Linked DNA regions of Homo sapiens: all the other regions are linked to region 2. Evidence: promoter capture Hi-C in 16 types of primary human blood cells and fetal thymus (Javierre and others, 2016). All regions are on one chromosome and are shown on one strand. The core of a region is centred on a gene start or on the middle of the fragment in contact, and the rest is flanking DNA. Distances in the headings are between cores, read along the strand shown. Region 1 overlaps ABCB7 (ATP binding cassette subfamily B member 7). Region 2 holds the start of NEXMIF (neurite extension and migration factor). Region 3 overlaps ABCB7 (ATP binding cassette subfamily B member 7).

The links. The method cuts DNA at HindIII sites, captures the fragments that hold promoters and counts their contacts. A CHiCAGO score of 5 or more calls a contact.
Region 1: a contact is called between a fragment that was not itself captured here and the fragment with the promoter of NEXMIF in region 2, in 1 of 17 cell types (naive CD4 T cells). The highest score is 5.7, in naive CD4 T cells.
Region 3: a fragment that was not itself captured here is called in contact with the fragment with the promoter of NEXMIF in region 2 in 1 of 17 cell types (naive CD4 T cells); the score reaches 5.6 in naive CD4 T cells.

The regions. Positions count from the first base shown.
Region 1 is chrX:75,147,050-75,149,934 of GRCh38, reverse strand. The region is part of intron 1 of ABCB7 (ATP binding cassette subfamily B member 7); the gene reads left to right. Among named protein-coding and RNA genes, the nearest start is that of ABCB7, 7.8 kb to the left of the region's middle. The HindIII fragment of the contact is 780 bases long and covers 894-1,673 here.
Region 2 is chrX:74,924,009-74,926,708 of GRCh38, reverse strand. It overlaps NEXMIF (neurite extension and migration factor), which reads left to right and starts at 1,257. Exons shown (of 4, transcript NM_001008537.3): 1 at 1,257-1,826. RefSeq lists a silencer at 2,219-2,378. The HindIII fragment of the contact is 8,655 bases long and covers 1-2,700 here.
Region 3 is chrX:75,096,644-75,099,343 of GRCh38, reverse strand. It overlaps ABCB7 (ATP binding cassette subfamily B member 7), which reads left to right. Exons shown (of 16, transcript NM_001271696.3): 4 at 283-402. Among named protein-coding and RNA genes, the nearest start is that of ABCB7, 58 kb to the left of the region's middle. The HindIII fragment of the contact is 1,129 bases long and covers 737-1,865 here.

The DNA of each region.
Region 1 (2,885 bases), core at 34-2,533, 220 kb before region 2:
CAGTCACCCTATATTGTTCCCTGTTCCTTGGACCATGTGCTTTTTTGTGTCTGTTCTTTTTTTTATGCCACACCCTATGTCTGAAATGCCCTCTCTCTAACTGGTGCCTATTTTTCAAATGTTAGTTCAAAGGTCAGTCCGTTCCCTGAAACCATTCCTTATAAGCTAATAAGACTTTGATTTCTCCCTCCTCTGAACTCCTACAACACTTTTTCCTACAAGTAGTTATGTATCTTGTGGAGGAGATAAGATTTTATGTGCCTAAAATGCTAATATATTCCAATCATCTTTTTGTTTTTATCTTCCACAGAGCTAGGCACGGTATGTTACATGTAATAGGTAATCAGAAAATATATGTAAAATGAATGATTAAACTCTATAACCAAACCAAAGCAAAAATCTAACATAATAATTAATAATATTTGCTCCACTGCTATACATTTGGAATTGAAAGCTAACTTTCTTCAGGGCAACCTCATAAGTTTGTCCGTTGCATTTCTGTCATTAGGCATATGGTACCGTGGTGGAGTAGCATCACTGATTGTTGTCAGTTTTAGTTCAATAACCAAAGCACACTTACTTTTTATCCTAAAATTTTTGAGTTACTTTATTTGTGAGCATCATTTGCTAAGATAAAGTGACTTACAGGATAACATTCTTTGAGGAATAAGATATAAAAATTTGCTGTTTGTAGAAATTTTAACTGCACACTGTATTTTGGGATGTTCATTAGTCCTCTGATTAAGTTTTCTTTACAATATCTAGAGAGGGATGGATATTAAAGTAGGGAAACCGCATCCTAAGGGTATAGTTCCTTAGGTGCTGATGTTTTGGGAGAGCAACTTTTAAACTTCTGCTTTTCAAAGCATATTAGAAAAAGACAAGGTGAAGCTTCGATTTTGGTTTACTTATAAAATTGTTTTTACTGATCTTGAGTAACTTATACTATAATATTGTAATATATTCATATTTTTGAGTGCATGAATGTTTGCTAAGTATGAACTCTTTCTTCAACTACTCTGACTGTAGTGACTTAATAACTGTGCATGTACATGTGTGCTTGCCTGCTACGTTTGCCATAACACCACAGATTGGGTGGCTTATACAACAGAAATGTATTTTCTCACAGTTCTGGAACCCATGAAGTCCAAGATGAAGGTGTCAGTAGAGTTGATTTCTTCTGAGGTCTCTCTCCTTGGCATGTAGATGGCCATCTTATACCTCTGTCTTCACACTGTCTTTTCCACTGTTTGTGTCTGTGTCCTGATATCCTCTTCTTAGAAGTATACTGGTCATATTGGATTAAGGCCCACCTTAATGACCTCATTGAACTTTAATTACCTCTTTAAGGGCCCTGTTTCCAAATATAGTCACATTCTGAAGTATTAGAGGTTAGGACTTCAACATATAAATTTGTGGGGGTGGGGAGTACACAGTTCAGACCATAACAATGTGTGTATGTGTTTGTATGTGTGTGTATGTATATGCAAATACATAGAAAATTGGAAAGATATACTCCAGTCTGGTAAAAGTGGTTACCTCGGGGGTTGGGGGGGGGTTTGGGATGCTAAAAAACAAACAAAAAAAATTTAATTTGCTATTATGGATACACAGACATAGTTTGATATACTGTACTTGTTTTTACAATGAGAAAAATATTTCATGTTTAAGCTTTTCAATTGATGAACTGACCTTTTTGAGTAGGTTATATTATGTTCATTTATTTGAAGTCCAATTTGTTTTGTCTGCTAGTAGTAATGCATTTTATCATCTCTGTAACTTTTATTTTATTTGTTTATTTTTTATTTTTTATTTTTTTGCGATGGAGTTGTGCTCTGTCACCCAGGTTGGAATGCAGTGGCACAATCTTGGCTCACTGCCACCTCTGCCTCCCAGGTTCAAGCGATTCTCCTGCCTCAGCCTCCCAAGTAGCTGGGATTACAGGCGCACACCACCACACCTGGCTAATTTTTGTATTTTTAGTAGAGATAGGGTTTCGCCATGTTGGCCAGGCTAGTCTCGAACTCCTGACCTCAGGTGATCCGCCCACCTCGGCCTTCCAAAGTGCTGGGATTACAGGCCTGAGCCACCACGCCTGGCCTTGTAACTTTTATTTTAAGTTCAGGAGTACATGTGCAGGTTTGTTACATAGGTAAACTTATGTCATGGAGGTTTGTTGTACAAATTATTTTATCACCCAGGTATTAAGCCTAGTAGCCATTAGTTATTTTTTCTGATCCTCTCCCTTCTTCCACCTTCCACCCTCTGATAGGCCCCAGTGTGTGTTGTTTCCTTGTATGTGTCTATGTGTTCTCATCATTTAGCTCCTACTTGTAAGTGAGAACATGTAGTACTTAGTTTTCTGTTCCTGTGTTAATTTGCTAAGGATAATGGCCTCCAGCTCCAGCCATGTCACTGCAAAGGACGTGATTTTGTTCTTTTTTATGGCTGCATAGTATTCCATGATATATTTGTACCACATTTTCTTTATCTAGTCTGTCATTGATAGGCATTTAGGTTGATTCCATGTGTTTGCTATTGTGAATGGTACTGCAATGAACATACGCATGCATGTGTCTTTATAATAGAATGATTTATATTCCTTGGGGTACATACCCAGTAATAGGATTGCTGGGTCAAATGGTAATTCTGTTTTTCATTCTTTGAGGAATTGCCACACTGCTCTCCACAGTAGTTGAACTAATTTACACTCCCACCAACAGTGCATATAAGTGTTCCTTTTTCTTCATAACCTCACCAGCATCTGTTATTTTTTGACTTTTTAATACTAGCCATTCTGACTGGTGTTAGGTGGTGTTTTGTTGTGATTTTGATTTGCATTTCTCTAATGATTAGTGATGTTGAGCATTTTTTTTTTTGTGTGC
Region 2 (2,700 bases), core at 8-2,507:
GTACTTTGCCAGGGAAAAGAAAATATACCCCCGCCTCTGCACTGTTTCTGGGGAGGGATTGTGTGACAGGTGATGGTGAGAAGTTGCACACATCAGATCTCAAAGCCTGAGCCCTCGTAGCAAAATGACGCTGTAGCTGTGGCAGCAAAGAAATCTGAAATGAGGCCCTGCCTGACTGGAGAAGCTGTGCTTTGGCAATGATGTTGGAGCAAGTGCACACAAAGTAGCTACTTTTACCCCTTCTGTTCTAGTACCAACCTTTTCATCTCTTGCCTTGGCTCCTAGTGGTGACAAATCTCCCGAGGCTCAGGCCTCAACCTTGCACCCAGGACTCCAGAAGTACTAAATGGTCCCTCCTGAGTTGCTCTCCAATCGTTTTGCTGTTTCCTGTTGAGTTCCCAGGACGTCTGAAGGAAAATGACCACCTAAGAGATTTTTCAATGACAGCCATCAGGCAGATCTGTTTTCCTTCCTGGCCATATTCAGCTTCCCTTCTTTCCTTTATTCCCCAAACGTCACTCCCCAATTGTCTGCCTTCATCCAACCCTTCAAAAAGGACCCACCTTCCTGGGGGCCCAGGCCCTTAAGTTAAGAGTAGGTAAAGGTTGAATGGTTAGATGCTTGGTGGATGAAACCATTCAAATATTCTTCCCCAAACTTCAGAGTGCCCCTCTCCGCACACACAACTGCCCTAAAAGGCATGGGAGAGTGGTGTCCGGTTGCGTGTCTGCCAGGGGAAGAACGCACCACTGGCGTAGTGGACTGGAAGGGCAGCAGGAACGCGAGTGGGGGGCGGGGTGGGAATGGGGAAGGGGGGTGCGCGCCCTTTATGACAGGTGGCCGCGCAGTGCGCGCTCCCGGGCGCCCGAGGGGAGGGAAGGACAGACGGACAGAGTTGGGGGGGCACATAAGGAAGGGACCATAGAGAGGGTAAGGAGAGCGGGAGGGAAAGGGAGAGCTGTGGTGGGGAAGAAGGGTAGAGGGGGGAAGGCGTCCAGCAAGAACAGCCGTGTTGGAGGAAACAATGGCAGGGGCAACAGCGATGGTGGCAGCAGAGGCGGCCCCACTCTGGGCACCTTTCTGAATGGGCAGAGACAGCTCCGGGAGAAGAGGGGACCAGGCAGTGCCTGCAGAGGCTCTGAGAAAAGCGGCAGAGGGAGGAGAAGAGGGAGGAGGAAGAGAAGGAGGAGGAGGAGTAGGAGGAGGAGGAGGAAGGGGGAGGAGGGGGGACGAGGCAGGGGAAGAACCTGGGAAGGAAAACCAGTAGCATCAGCAGCAGCAGCAGCAGCCGCCGCCGCCACCACCGCCGCCACAGCAGTAGCATTAGCGGCAGTAGCAGCATTTAGCAATAGCTTTAACAGCTATAGCGACAGTAGCAGCCGCCCTCCTCTCTCCCTCTCGCGGACGGCCGCAGCCACCGCACAGAGCGGGCTCCAGGCGCCGAGCGCGCAGCCCGCTCGCTAGGTAGCTCCAGCCGGGGCGAGCGACAGTGTAAGCGAAGCACGGACCCTTGGAGCAGCCGGGCAGCCGCGGAGGCTCTGAGTTTCAGGGCCAGAGCCCGACAGCTCTGACTCCATCTAGCGCGGCGGCGGCGGAGCCTGAGGGAGCGAGCGAGGAGAGAGGCGCGTCCACCTGGCGGGCCCAGCGTATGGAGCTGAGGCAGAGGCGGCGGCGGCGGCGGCAGCAGTAGCAGCGGCGGTGGCGGCTAAGGCAGCTCGAACAGCTGCGGCGACGGCGACAGCCCAGCCTTGACTGCGACCGCGCTAGCTACAGCGCCTGCTGCCTGAGCCCGCCAGCGACGTGCGCCTCGGGAGTCGGCCTGTGAGGTGAGTAGGAGCGCTGCCATACAGCTTCCTGGCCTTCTCGCCGGCTCCCCGGCTGGCTCGGGGTGGCGGCCGCAGGGGGTGGAATGAACTGGGGTAAGTCGAGCTAGACGAGAAGGAAGGGAAAACGGAACGGAGGACGTCTGTATGCGAATGTGTGTGTCTGTGTATGAGGGAGCGAGGCCGCTAGGGCGAGAGATCCCGGCTCGCCCTGACAGGCACTGCAATCTAGGAAAGGCCTCTGTGCTTGCGCCGTAGGAAGGGGGTTGCGGGGGGAGGGGAAGCGAGCGGACCGGAGCCGCCGCGCTTACACGCACGCAGCTCGGCAGAGTGCCGCCTCCTTTCGGACTGGTGCAGGGTAGAGCCTGGCCAGGGAATGGGGCATGGGCATGGCACGCTTCGGCGAGAGCGGGAAAACCCACGCGGCGGCCGAGGCCGGGCGCTCGGACCAAAGCCGCAAAGGTGCGAAGCCGGGCGGCCGTGGCGACCACAGAGCGCCCCCAGGACACGCGCCACTCGGCCGAGGCTGCGGACAGGTTTAAGTTGGAGGCCAGACCGAGCCTCGCCCAGCTCATCTCCTTTGCGGAAATTGGCTTGTGGCCCCTTCGCGCTCTCGGTGGCGGTCGAATTGACGCTTTTCTGTGTGGCTTCTGGCGCTTCTCTCTGCCGCGCCCCGCAGCACACGTCGGCTCGCGTCTTGTACACCCTGTAGGGCGGGAAGGCCGTGAGCCGGCGCGGGGAGCGGAGTCCCGCTCCGGGAAAGTGTGGAAACCGCGCTGCTGAGTTGGCGCCGTTCCGCTGAGGAATTCAGCGATTTCAGCATGACTGCTTCTGTCTGTCTGATTCGTGAGGGACCGAATCACCCGCGCAAGGTTTT
Region 3 (2,700 bases), core at 52-2,551, 170 kb before region 2:
ACATGTCCCTTCATGACCACTAAATTACTTTTTTAACAATATGAGAGTGGCTAAAATTGAAAGTAAGACATTTAAGAGAAATGAATAACTTTTTTAAAGTAATTGAAATAATTTTTCTCTAAAATATTTTGATTTTGAAAGATATTAGCCTTAGATTCAGAATAAAAGTTATATTTGTAATGTTTTCATGTATTTCTCAAATATATAAATTCTACGTTATTGAATTATGGTTATGTTTGAAATGACATGTTATTCACTGCTTTGTTTTCTCTCTTTCAATAGTTAAAAGATGTTGATACTCGGAAAATCATAAAAGCAATGCTTTCTTATGTGTGGCCCAAAGACAGGCCAGATCTACGAGCTAGAGTTGCCATTTCGCTGGGATTTTTGGGTGGTGCAAAGGTAAGAAATTATGCATTGTTTGGTTGCTCTAACTAAGAAATACTACATTTTCTAGTTATGAATCCTGGGCCTGGTGTAAATCACTTTTGGGGTAGCATGACCAACTTTTAGGACCCTCATTTAGTTTACATAATTATTTTATGCAGTCATTAGAAATTATATGGTAATGTCCTGTTTATCTCTGGATCAGACTTCTCACAGAATTAGTGGAATTCACTCCTTGAAACCGTTGTGAGATATAGGAGCATTGATTGTAACAAAGCATAAGCACCTTTGTAAAAGAAGCTTTTCGGAGCCTCTTTGGCTCCGAAATAATACATATTTTTGGTAAGCTTGGTTCCCAGATCCCAGTAAATTGAAAAGAGGATGAAGCCATTTTAGGAACACTGATAGCCATAAGTAATAAGCAACAGCTTAATATCAAGAGAAAAGCTAAAAAAACAAAACAAAACAAAAGCCACAAAACCTGACTGTTTTGGTACGTTCAGTATAGGAGCCCTCTGCATTTCAGCAGCCTTCTCAGTTTGTCATTGTACTATATAAGGCAAAGTTATAATGATGACCTCGAGTTTTCAAGAAAATAAAAACCTTGTTTCAAATTTACTCAGATTTTTTTTTCTTTTTTTTTTTTTTGATACAGAGTCTCACTCTGTTGCCCAGACTGGAGTACAGTGGCACAATCTTGGCTCACTGCAATCTCTGCCTCCCGGGTTCAAGCAATTCTCCTGCCTCAGCCTCCCGAGTAGCTGGGATTATAGGCGTGCGCCACCATGCCCAGCTAATTTTTGTATTTTTAGTAGAGATGGGGTTTCACCATGTTGACCAGGCTGGTCTCTAACTCCTGACCCCAGGTGATCCACCCGCCTCGACCTCCCAAAGTGCTGGGATTACAGGCATGAGCCACCGCACCCAGCCCCCAATTTACTCAGATTTTAAAGTCAGGGAAGTACACGTTTGTAGGTATACTATATTGTCATGATGAAGTCTCTGAAATCAGACTGCTTGGGCTTTGCCACCTTGTAACCTTAAGCAAGTTGTTTAGTCTGTGTGCCTCAGTTTGTCCATTTGTAAAATAGGGTTGCTATAAAGATTAAATAAGTTAACATACAAAGGACTTATAACAGTGCCTGGCAGGTAGTAAAATACAAGTATTAAAAATAAATAAATTTAGATTTCCAAAAATAATGGTAAAAAGTGTTTGCTTAAAATGAGCATAAAGGAGGTTTGGCTATGATTTGGCTACCACTCTTATATATAAGGATTAAGATTTTATTTTAGAACCCAGTTCTTACCACTTATTTTTTCCCTATATTATGTATACTCTCCTTTATTTGCTTATTCTTTTCCCTACCCTAAAAATATTAATTGAGAACTTATACACACTACTGTTCTTGGCATTGCAGAGTGTTCAGATATGAACAAAGCAAATTTCTTTCCTCAAACCATATGGGATAAGGCAAGCTTTATTTTATTGCCCTAATAAAAGGTAGGTCATAAATGATTTAAAGAAGTGCCAGTCGGGTGTTGTGGGGTTTCAGAAGAAAGTTAGGAACCACCATCATGGGGAGTTAGGAAAGGTTTCACAGAGGAGATGACATCTGAGATAGACCTTGATTGATGAGTAGGATTATTACAGGTGTAGGAATAACATGAAAAATGGCCTAGTTGTGAGAGAGCATAGTATGTGTACAGAAGTGAGTAGTCTATCCTGGTTCCAGCGAGGGGAAGATGTTTCAGAGAATTCGGAAATAAGCTTGGAAAGACAGATTAGAGCTCGTAAATGTGAAATATTGTGACTGTGAGACAGAAAAATGTATTTAATTATGTGGGAAGTGGGAACCTGTATTTTGAATAGATGAGTAATAAGGTTAGAACTGTGTTTTAGGAAATTAATCTGGCCATGTGTAAAAGATGAATTCAAGTGGTGATAGACCTAAAGTAGGGATACCATTTATTTCACACATTCATTCAGCAAATGTTTACTGACCAGTTATAAGGCTCATATGATAGTCTAGATAAGAAGTAATAGCAATTTGTACTGAAATAGTAGTAGAAATTGCAACATGGAGGAAAATACAAGAGATACTGTGCAGTAGGGGAGATAGAGTCAACAATACTTAGCAATGGGTCAACTGTTAGAAGTTAAAAAAAAAAAAAGTAGGATTCCAGGATGAGAGAATAAGAATGCCTTTAACAAAAGTGGGTATAATCAGAAGGTCTTGTTTGGGGAAAATGAAGATCTTGGTTTTGGACATGTTAAGTTTTAGGTACTAGCAGAACACCCAGATAGAGATATTC